2 separate regions of the Homo sapiens genome follow, and region 2 is linked to region 1. Evidence: promoter capture Hi-C in 16 types of primary human blood cells and fetal thymus (Javierre and others, 2016). All regions are on one chromosome and are shown on one strand. The core of a region is centred on a gene start or on the middle of the fragment in contact, and the rest is flanking DNA. Distances in the headings are between cores, read along the strand shown. Region 1 holds the start of RTP1 (receptor transporter protein 1). Region 2 has its middle 45 kb from the start of SST.

Region 1 (5,929 bases), core at 2,175-4,674:
TCTAAAACTCTGTCTTCTGAACCTCCCCTAAATTCTCTGCCAGTTAATACGCAGTGGGTGAGAAGCCTAACTCTATGAGACCCCACCCCAACCACCATCTTTCAGGCAGGCAGACCCCAGAATCTGCCCTGAGTGGAAAGAAGCTGGAATCTGAGAAACAAAAAAAAGAGACCCTGTGTACCTGGCAGCAAAGGAACAGCCTGATCTCCCACCTCTTGCACTTCAAGGGAAACCTCTGCTGCGTGTGTGAAGGCAGAATCACGGATGAGGCTCACAGGGTGGGCAAAGAAGCTAATTTAAGGCTGCAGCTAGAGAAAGTGGGAGATCATGAGGGGCAGGGGTGAGGGACTAATAAGAGCAAGGTCGAGCTCATTACTGTGGAAAGCCCTTTTGAGATCACCCAGTCCTCTAATTTTCAAACTTTTTAAAAGTAGTTAAACTTTTTTTTTTTTTTTTTTTGGTACAAAAATCTTAAATGGAACCCTATCTAAAGTAAAGCTGTTCTGATCGAAGCAAGAGGAGGAGGTAGGAGTTGGAGGATGGGTGTTTAGATCAGGAGTTGGAGACACCCACTAGCTTAGCCTACTTTCCAAATCCAAAAGTCCCTGAGGCACCTACGCAGAACTTTGGGGTCCTGGGTTTCACTATGATAAACCAATGATCTTGCCCAAACCCTGAGTTTTATAGATGGAAAAACTGTATAATTTGTCCAAGATCCCCACTGAGTCAGTGACATCACCAGCGCTAGAAGTTTACACTATTCTCAACCCACGTCTCTCCTCTACCCTCGCATCAGCTAACTGGCACCCTCGACAGGCTCTGGGCCCAACCACGGAATCTTATACGGAGCTACGGAAAGAGAACTGCAGGTAGATGATCAGCAGCAGGACCGTGGCCCAAAACAAGCACCAGGGGATAGAGCAGAAGTTCCAGCCTGAGCCCGTCTGGTCCTGCGACTTGGTGGGGCTGGGCGCCCGGGAGAAGGTGTAGGTGGTCGCCTCCTCCTCCAGCAGCTTCTCGCTGGGCTTCCAGTGCACGATGCCCTCCTGGCAGGCCTCGCAGAACTCTCCGCGGTGCCGCCGGTTGTCCTGGCGGCTGGCCACGTGGATGCGGTACTGGCCGCCACGCTCGCCGTAGCACTGCTCGCGCAGGCTGGTGATGAGGTTGTCCACCAGGCCCTCGATGTTCTCCTCCAGCATGCTGGACTCGTCCAGCCGCGCCGTGCCGCACTCATAGCACAGCTGCTTGAAGACGCGCATGCGCACCGAGCCCGCCCGCTGGGCGCGGTCCAGGAACATGTGGAAGAGGATGACCACGTAGGGCGACTGCCAGGTGTGCCAGCACCAGGAGCAGTGGAACCTGCGGAGACGGGAGGAGAGGGAGGAATAGAAGACGGGCGGAGGTGGTGGAAACAGCCCTAGGAATGGCGTGAGGGGACGTGGAGGCTAAGCAGAGCCTGGAGGTGGAGGAAGTGTGTTGCCGGCGCCCTGGGTTCATTAGCTTTCCCCAGGAAGCCACTCAGCCTTGCAAGTGCCCCTAGGACTACAGCAGGTTCCTCAGGATGTCACCGGGCATCCAGCAGTGCTCTACCTCCTCAGTGCTTTCCAGAGGCCTAACTCCCACCACCCCAGCATTGGGCGTCATTCTTATTCCTCATGGGCAAAATGCGCTTGGTGCACTAGGTGAGTCCTTCCTTCTCACACCAGATAAGAAACACATAATCCATCTGCACATTTCTATCTGTTAACACTGACTGTGAACAGGCTAGATCCAAATTAGGAGAAAATGACACCATTACTAGCTATCAACGTCCAGGCCAGTGTCAGAGTTAATGCATCACAAGGCCTGGAGGTGGAGGCAGTCTGTGCCCAGATCCCCAAGGCCTGTAGTCTCCCAGGCCTGACTGGGGCCAGCTGGGGATTACAGGTCCCCAGCCAGGTCTGGGGCAGCCACAAGCCCTCCCCACTCAGCCCCCACAGCCTTCCAGGTCTTCAAGAAGCTCCTGATCCTGCCTGTAAGTGTCCAGCCCTTGACACCCCTCCTGTCAGCCAGTTTAGGAGCTTCACATTTTCATTCTCTTCTTGTTCACACATCTTTTGGGGACTGTTTCCTCTCTCAGACCAGACTACAAAACCTGGATTGAAAAATGTCGTAACTAGAGGGACCTGGAAATCACCTAATTAATGTTTTCTTTTATGCTGAGACAGAGTGAGAGAGGCATCCATGTACACACAGCTAGAGGCAGAACCGGCGCCCAGCACGTAACAGGTGCCCAGTAATGTTTCCTGAATTGAAGTGAATTGGCTGAACCAGGGCAAGCAGGAAGGCCTTGCTTCTGACTTCCAGGCTGCACCACTCAGCCTCCCCATCTTATGTCTCAAAGGTAAGCCCCTACACTCTGGACCCATGAACAAGAGTGCTAGAAATTCATCTCAGATAGTTTTTACATACTAATCACCTAGAACTCTTCTTGAAATCAGATTCTGATTCAGATCTAAAAGGGGCCCAAGATTCTGCTTTCTTAACAAATTCCAGGTGATGCCGATCCTGCTGCTCTGTGGACCACAGGCTAACCTCTCACTGTGCAAAAGGAGAAAGCCAGGTCCAAGAAGAAAATCGAGTTCCTCAACAGCCATGGAGCCAATGATAGAGCCAGTTTCTGGCACATCTCATGTATTCAATATTTTAAGTGAAATTAAGTTGAGTTAAATAGATTTAAACCGGTCCCAGGACCAGAGCACGGACGTCTCGACCCCCAGTGGGCCTCAAACCCTTCTTCTCTGGTTTTAAACTACTTTTTAAGAGACTGTTAAAATAGAAAATATGTAAAATGTCAGTGTGTAGGACTCATACGTATATTCTATGTCTTTATTTTCCAGACGGAAAAATTGTGACTCAGAGAGGAAGAGTAACACAGGTGATCAGTAGAAGAGCTGAAATCCAACTCAAGTGTCGTAGTTCCCAGTTAGGGACTCTTTCTCTGACTTCCAGTCTACGCCAGCCTAATAGTGAGATTGAAGCTAAACACTTGGGTTCTACGTAATCTTCCTCTCCTTGGAAGGTGCCCCAGAGCTAGGGACCTAGAGGCGGCCTGCAGGGATCCACCTTCCTGGGCTACTCACCTGCCTGAAGCATGCAATTCCAGGTACTGCTTCCAACCAGGGCTCAGCACATTGTGCTTGAGGTTGGGGTCTATGATGAGGTCCCAGCTGTCAGCCGGCTTTGCCTCCTCCATCTTCTCATAGAAGACTTTCTTCCACTCATCTGTGGTCACGCTTTTACACATGGTCTCGTCAGTAGTGAGGGAAGGCAATTTCCACCTTAGTGAGAACACGGAGAGTGAGGGTAGGTGCAGGGCAGGGCAGCGCAGTCTCCACGGTCTAAAAATCCTCATCGACAAGACCAGGAGGAAGCAGGACCCAGCTCCCTCCTTTGTCCGCAGTGGAACCTGTTTCCACGGCAACCAGGCAGGTTGCCAGAAGACAGAGCTTGGGGAGGAGGGAGTCTCTGAAGAGGTGTTTCAAGGCCCTGAACTGAGATTGCAGAGGCAGAGTTTGTGGGTCTAAATGATCCAAGACAGAGTGGGGGACCTGACCAGAGATTGAGCTTCAGACCATCTCACCCTGGCCTGGAAAGAGTATGGGGAGGTGAGGACTGGGAACTGGCTCAGTTTCACCTTGCCGTCCCCTGGAGGCATCATCAGCATCTGGCTGCTACGGTAACCATGATGCCTTAGGCAGCCAAGGAGAAATGAGGGATGGGGAGATGTAAATTTGTTAGTAGATGGAGCAATAATAATAAACTCTCTCTCGGCTTCCCCAGCCATCTTGTGACCAGCACTTTGCCATTTTCAAAACACAATTGGAGGTCTCTTAAGTTATGATTACTATTGCTGCAGTACAGATCAGGAGCCTAGGACTCACCTAGCCTATAAATGGCGGAGCCTGTATACAAATTCAAGCTGTTGACCCCAGACCGGTTCATTAATTCATTCATTTCAAACATATCCGAGCATGTGGGTAGGGTTTGCAGACATGTGCCAAGCTCTATGTCAGTGCTTGTAGCTGACTGTGTACTGAATAACTGTGCAATAGGATCCATGCTGCAATGGCCTTGTGCAAGAACAGCCACCTGTGCACAAAGGTAGGAGCATTGCATCAGCCAGGCAGGAGCAGACAAGATTATTTCCAAGCTGATTATAGAAGCGCAGAAGAGGAGCACCACCCACAGGCAAAACAGCCTTTACTATACATGCCTCTGCTGCTATTTTTAATAAATTATTTTTCCTTTTAAAAAATCATATGGGTTTATTCTAGAAAAAATACAAAATATAGATGAAAGAAAAGAGAAGTAAGACTCTTCCATAAAACCCCACCCGAGATGACTACTGTTAACATTACGATATGTACATCCCGCTTACCATTTTTCTGTACATGTACAAGTGTATGTGTGTGTATATACACACACATTCTGTACACCACATACATTCTATATACCACATTGTGACATTTTCAAAAAATAATACGTCATGAATATTTTTCTAGGTCATATTCCGTAGTAGTACATTATGGGCTACCTATATTCTGTTATATGGATAGGCATAATTTATTTAGCCAATCCTGTCTTTTAGGGCATTTTGGTTTTATTTCAGTTTCTCACATTACACTCTTCCCATCTATTTGTATAAACTTGTTGACGAAGCTCATCGCATGCATTAGAAACAACACTTCCTACAATTGGAAAACACGTCTCTTGACTCCACTCTCTCCAAAAGCTTGGTGTGGCTAGCAGAATCTGAGCAGGCTCTTCAAACAGTATGAATTTTGGACAGCCAGCAGATCTTGAAGTTTAGTGATGAAAAAGAGGGACTTAAAATCACCCATCTGATACCAGAAACCATCTTCCAAGTGCTTCTCCTGCCGCTTCATGGATGTTTGATGCCTTGATTTACACTATTTTAACCTCAGTTTATTCATCTTCTCAGTGGGATAATAACAAAACAGTATCTGCTGTGATTAAAAGCAGGGGCTTTAGAATGGCTTGCCTGGTTGTGGTGTTGTTGTTGTTGTTGTTGTTGTTACAGAGTCTCGCTCTGTTGCCCAGGCTGGAGTGCAATGGCACAATCTCGACTCACTGCAACCTCCACCTCCCAAGTTCAAGTGATTCTCTTGCCTCAGCCTCCCAAGTAACAGGGATTACAGGCATGCGTCACCACACCTGGCTGATTTTGTATTTTCCGTAGAGATGGGATTTCACCATGTTGGCCAGGCTGGTCTCAAACTCCTGACCTCAGGTGATCTGCCTACCTTAGCATCCCCAAGTGCTGGGATTACAGGCATGAGTCACCGTGCCTGGCTGCTTTTACAAAAAAAAAAAAATTTCCATATAGACTCATAGGTAGCAATTCTAATGTATATAATCTGTATCTTTTCATCCTAGTAAAAAATACGTGTTAATGTTTTATGTGAATATAATTTTAATTTGCATAGTAACAGCAATCACCATATAGCACTTACTATATAGCAATCACTATACAGCACTTACCTGGTAAGTGCTTAGAAAGCATTGTTCTGGTGCTTTATAAATATTAATTTATTTCATTCAATAACAAACTTGACAGGTAGGTAACAGCAGCAGCAGCTCCATTTTACAGATATGTGAGCTAAAGTCTAGAGGTTAGATAACTTGCACAAGATTTAACAGCTAATAACTAGTTGAACTGGGACTTAAACCTATATGACTGTCTACAAAGCCCCAGCTTTAGCCATTGTGATGCTCAGCGTGGAATCTAGAACATAACATCTGCTAATTAAATGTGTGTTTCTTCATCACTCACGTGGCCGTTACAGACCCCAAGAATTGCAAATGAAGTTTATATCATTTCAGCAAATGGTTCACTGGGGCCCCCCCACACTGAGGCCACATCTCC
Region 2 (5,665 bases), core at 2,231-4,730, 430 kb before region 1:
TGTTGTTTGTTTGTTTGTTTGAGACAGAGTTTCGCTCTTTCACCCAGGCTGGAGTGAGGTGGCATGATCTCGGCTCACTGCAACCTCTGTCCCCCAGGTTCAAGCGATTCTCCTGCCTCAGCCTCCCGAGTAGTTGGGATTATAGGCACCTGCCACCACACCTGGCTAATTTTTGTATTTTTAGTAGAGACAGGGTTTCACCACTTTGGCCAGGTCTCGAACTCCTGACCTCAGGTGATTCACCTGCCTTGGCCTCCCAAAGTCCTAGGATTACAGGTGTGAGCCACCTTGCCTGGCTTATTTACACATTCATTTGTTCTTTATCTACTTTCCCAAAAGATTTGTGGCTGCCTATGTTAAAAAGCACAGATTATCTATATCGATACCTATATATAAATATATCTATATCTACATTTAAATCAAACAATTTAAACAAAATATTATGACAAACCAAGTCATACCACAGCCTATGCTGATGGGATGGTGAGGAGCTGCACGCTGTGCCAGAGAAGGTAATGGAGGGGCACAGCCAAGCTGCCAGGCAGCCGGTACAACAACTTCCCACAGCCCACAATGTACTCACAGTTTTGAGTTTCATTCCAGTTATGGAATGAGACTGTGAGGCCTCAGGCAGCTCACCTCCCTTCTGGGCCTCAATTTCATCTGAGAAATGAGGGAGTTACTAGGTAAGAAGACTAAATCTGTGGGCTTGTCTAGCTTTAACATTTTGTGTTAAATTTTGTGTTTAACACTCTAGTTGTGGCTTGAGCCACAGACTGGCCAGAGTGGAATTGCCAGGTAGGAAAGGGTACTTGGAAGGGGTCAGTCCTGCTGCAGGAGAAGACAAGGTGTTCCAAAAAGGCCTGCTCACTCTTTAAATGGCATAGTGTAGTGGTTAAAAGCCTACATTCTGACAGGTGGACTCCCTCAGTTTGCATCCTTTGTTCAGTTACCAAGTTTTTCTTTGCATCTTTATGTCATAGGGCTTGTCTTAGTCTTTTCAGGCTGCTATAGCAAAATACCACACTACTGAGTGGCTTATATACAACAGAAACTTATTTCTCCGAGTTCTGGAGGCTGGAAAGTTCAAGAACAAGGCACTGGCTGGTTTGGTGTCTGGCAAGGCCTGCTTCCTGGTTCACAGATGGCCATCTGAGATTGGAGTAAACACAAAATGTTTCTTCTCTGCTCTTACGCCACAACAATCAACACAGAAGACTTATGTGACTAAATGTTTAGGGATTTTCTCTCTACCATCAAGCAAGCATTCAATTCTGTAGTGGATGCCAGCTGGGTGTCTTATTCAATTCAATTCAATTCAGTTCTTACACTATCTACCTGCAGGGCTATCTACTGAGCCCTTTCAAGTTGAAGGCTCAGTCCCCAAGACTGTCCCCTACTTTTTTTTTTTTTTTTTTTTTTTTTTTTGAGGTGGAGTCTCGCTCTGTCACCCAGGCTGGAGTGCAATGGTGCAATCTCTGCTCACTGCAACCTCCACCTCCTGGGCTCAAGCAATTCTCCTGCCTCAGCCTCCTGAGTAGCTGGGATTACAGGCAGCCATCACCATGCCTGGCTAATTTTTGTATTTTTAGTAGAGATGGGGTTTCACCCTGTTGGCCAGGGTGGTTTCAGACTCCTGATCGCGAGTGATCCACCTGCCTTGGCCTCTCAAAGTGCTGGGATTACAGGTGAGAGCCACTGCGCCTCAGGCTGCTTTACCTGTGCTTCTGACCAACCAGATATAAATCAGGGATCTCATTACCCACCTCCTTGGGTTCTATAAATTTGTTAGAGCAGTTCACAGAACTCAGGGAAACACTTACTTATGCTTAATGGTTTATTATAAAGAATATTACAAAGGATACAAATAAAGAGATGCATAAGGTGAGGTATGGGAATGGGCATAGAGCTCCCATGACATTCCTGGGTGCACCACCCTCCAGGGACCTCTACGTGTTCAGCTATCTGGAGGCTCTCTGAATTCTGTCCTTTTGGGCCTTTTATGGAGACTTCATTGGATAGGCTTGATTGACAGCCATGTGGAAATGTGATTGGACAAGAAGAGTATAATCTAATACTAATAACTGAGCAGGGATCCCCAGCAAGTCCTGCCTGTTCAAATTCTTTTTGGCCTCTCTGTGCAGTGTTCCTTCCCCAGGGTACGAGGCTGAACCTCTTTGGAAGCAGAGGTCTTATGATCTACAATCAGACAAGGTGGGTCAGAAAATTTCTTTATGACCAGAGGTGGGGGAAGATTAGAGTGTATTTTTAGTTTCTAAATCCTGCCTTGAGGAGAAAAAGAAGCAGGTGAAAAAACGGCAGGAGAAAGGTCAGTGAGAGAGAGCTTCTGCTTTCTGACACCTAAAGTGCCCCAGCATTATAACAAAAGACTGTAATAAGGGCTATGGGAGTGATAAACTGGGAACTGTGGATGAAAACACACACACACACACACACACACACACACACACATATACAATCTCATAATATCACACCATATTTTTACTATGTTCTCACATGGCTGAAGGGGGCAAATGAGCTCTCTGGGGTCCTTTTTACAAGAGCACTAATCTCATTTATGAGGGCCTCTAACCTGACCTAATCACCTCTCCAAGGCCCTGCCTCCAAATGCCATCACCTTGGGGGTTGGGTTTCAACATATGAATTTTGCAGTGACACAAATATTCAGTGTTTAGCAGGTCTATGGACACAATGAATGGTGTTAATACTTCTAAAATGGGATTAATGGTAGGGCGGCTGACGACATTAATGACAATTATTCATGGAGAACACTAAATGTTCAGAAAATAGGAATTCCTGCTGCTGTCTTTGCTACTGTTCAGCACCCAGAACTTTTCAAATTAGAGGATATCACTGCTTCCATGCACGCTCATGCCCAGAGAGTGACTCTGGCGAAGGCTTTGAGCAATAATGTAAGATAAGATAAGAGCCTGGACCCCCACCTCTCAGATGTGATACAGAAGTGAACAGGGTACTCAACAAGAATTGCTCTCATTTACTGAGCATTTTCGGTGTGCCATGAGCTGTGATGGATACCACATGGCGTCTTTTCATACAATTTTGTCAACAATGCTGTGAGGTGAGTGGAGATGTTGAGGATCGGTGCAATCTATCCCTGCTGGAACTCAGGTCTGTCTGACTCAGAAGTCCATGCTCTTAAAGCAAGCCAAATACTTGTGGAATGTAAAATGCTAACCTCTGAGCACAGCCAGTCTGGGGACTGCCAGAGTGCTCTCTGATGCAGGAAAATACATCTGAGGACAGGGAAGCCGAGTGAGGTGCCCAGAAAAGACAATTTGGAAGGTGCAGGGTGAAAATAGAATCAGTCTCTCTTTCTCTCTACACACATATACACACACATACCATATTTGTGGCATAAAGCTTTCCACTTAGAGTCAGAAAACTTGGATTCGAGTATTTGTTGCTCTTTCACTTACAGGGATGTGAACTTTGGTAAGTCATTTCCCTAGTTTTGCCACCTATAAAATGGAAAGTCAGGTATTTCTCAATTTCTTCATAGAGTAGCACAAAGCTTAAATCCTATAGATAATGGATGTGAATGTTCTTTGTAAGCAGTATAGCAGTATTAATGGTATTTGATTTTTAAAATCACTTATACTCAATATTACCAAGATTTTGGATTGCCTCCTTCCCGGAAGACTTCCCTCCCTTTTCAAAAAATCATGATCATCCTTTTAGCAATGATTCTGTCCCAGAGGACAACCATGTGGATCAGGGAAAGAACAAATTGCCTTAATTTAGTTCCAAAGATATTTGAAGAGATCAATTTCCAGAGTGTTGTCAAGGGGCGAATGTGTGGACACTGAATTTTAGTGAAGAGTAATGGCTCACCTCTGTCAATAGAGGCAACAAGGAGCATGGTGAGGGTGGGAAAGCTGCCAGCCCGTGTAATCTGCAGCTGAGAGAGGAGGCTTCCATTCGAAAGCAAAAAGAGTTAGGTGGAAAAGCTTAGTTCCTGTCTTTTTCTTTTTGGAGAAATGTAATTACTGTGTTGATGTGTTGACCATTCAGGTTTGCTTGTTTTGTAATTATTTCTTCCTTCCTTTTTCTTTGTTTATCCTACCTTAATGGGATAATTAGACCTGCAGGTGCTCATCAAATACAGTGGGTGCCTGGGAACGCACTCCCTGGAGGGTGGGTAAGGCAGGTGCCAAGAGAGGGCCAATGCAGGGGTGCAGGCACAGGGCTGAGCATTATAGCTCTCAGCACTCGTCTGACTTGGACACTCCTTCCTGAGTGGGAGGGTGCACTTGTTAAAGTGTCTGTTTCCGAGATGTGTCTCTGGAGAGCACAGAGTGAGCCAGTGTGAGGTCATCTGGGTCTGCCCCTCTCATCCATGTGGTCTGACCACTTAGCCTTCTGAGTTTCAGTTGCTTCATCTGCAAAATAGTAATAATGATGCCTCCTGCTCCTCAAGGCTGTGGGGAGAATCGCATTCACAATGTATTCTTTTATTCCCTCAAAAGGTCTTAACTGAGCAACTACTGTGTTCCAGGCACTGGGAATATAGCCATGAAAATACAAAGATCTCATTCCCTAGGGAGCTCACATTCTACAAGTAAAATGTATAGCAAGTCAGACAGTGAGGAGTGCTGTGGAGAAGCATATCATGGGAAGCGGACAGGGAGTTTCAGGGGAGGTGGGCACAGTTGCAATTTTCCTTTAGGCCAATAGGAAAGATAACATTTGAACACAGTTCTGAAGTAGGTGAGGGAGCAAGCCAGGTAGATATCTGAGGGAGGAATGTTCAGGATAGGGGAAACAGTAAATGCAAAGTGATGTGATATGTGTGAAAATACCTTATAAATGGTAAAGAATTGTCTAAGAATAGCTGTTGTTATTATAACTCTTAAATACAGATAGCCTGATAACAGAGATTTTTCATCAATATGTATTACTGCCTTGTAGTGCTACAGAAGTCTTTCTACAAGTTCCTATCAAGTCTTAGCAACTGAGCAGTTCACGGAACTCCTCGGAGAAAGGCACAAGACGGTCTCTCTAGCATTTTCACCTTCTTCACAGTATTATTCCTGTAGTAACCGTTTCTTAGGCCATGTTTAAAAGAACTACAGGCAATTAACAAGTCAACTAAACTTAAAAAAAAATGGTCAGACCAGTTTTGCATTCTGTGAACCACAAAGAAAAAAGTAGTTGCTGAATGTTTTTTGGTTTCTGCTTTACTTTTCATTTGGTTGTGCTAGAATGGTGAAGTCTGCCTCCCTAGTATAAAATGTACATTTCTACTGACATTTAAAAAATGGCTCTGAGGGTTTCAGACAGAAGTCTCTCTAGATGTGCAAGAAGTTTCAATTATTCTGTTTGGGAACATTGTCATTTTTTTTTTTTTTTTGAGATGCTTTTTGGTGTCGGGAGGCCTCAGCTAAGACACGTGGGAGAGTTAATGAACAGAATTGATAATGACAGATAGGAAAATTGATTGTCAGACAAGAAATGGTAGGAACATAAGCAGGGAGATCTGTCTAGGGAGATGGAGGATGGGGCTGTCAGTGATGGGAAATAGAGATGGGTTGTGGTAGGGGAAATACTATAGCTACTGACAGAAGACAGTGCCAACCTGAGACTGGGCAATGGAGCTCAAAGGCATATGACCATTTAGGACTTA

What was found. The method cuts DNA at HindIII sites, captures the fragments that hold promoters and counts their contacts. A CHiCAGO score of 5 or more calls a contact.
Region 2: a fragment that was not itself captured here is called in contact with the fragment with the promoter of RTP1 in region 1 in 1 of 17 cell types (M1 macrophages); the score reaches 5.2 in M1 macrophages.

The regions. Positions count from the first base shown.
Region 1 is chr3:187,194,981-187,200,909 of GRCh38, reverse strand. RTP1 (receptor transporter protein 1) reads right to left here and starts at 3,424. Exons shown (of 2, transcript NM_153708.3): 1 at 3,123-3,424; 2 at 1-1,359. The coding sequence starts at 3,394. The coding sequence ends at 840. It overlaps LOC101929106 (a long non-coding RNA gene), which reads left to right. Exons shown (of 5, transcript NR_110052.1): 3 at 797-1,682; 4 at 2,208-2,383; 5 at 2,880-3,820. The HindIII fragment of the contact is 10,837 bases long and covers 1-4,776 here.
Region 2 is chr3:187,622,290-187,627,954 of GRCh38, reverse strand. No RefSeq gene overlaps it. Among named protein-coding and RNA genes, the nearest start is that of SST, 45 kb to the left of the region's middle. The HindIII fragment of the contact is 151 bases long and covers 3,405-3,555 here.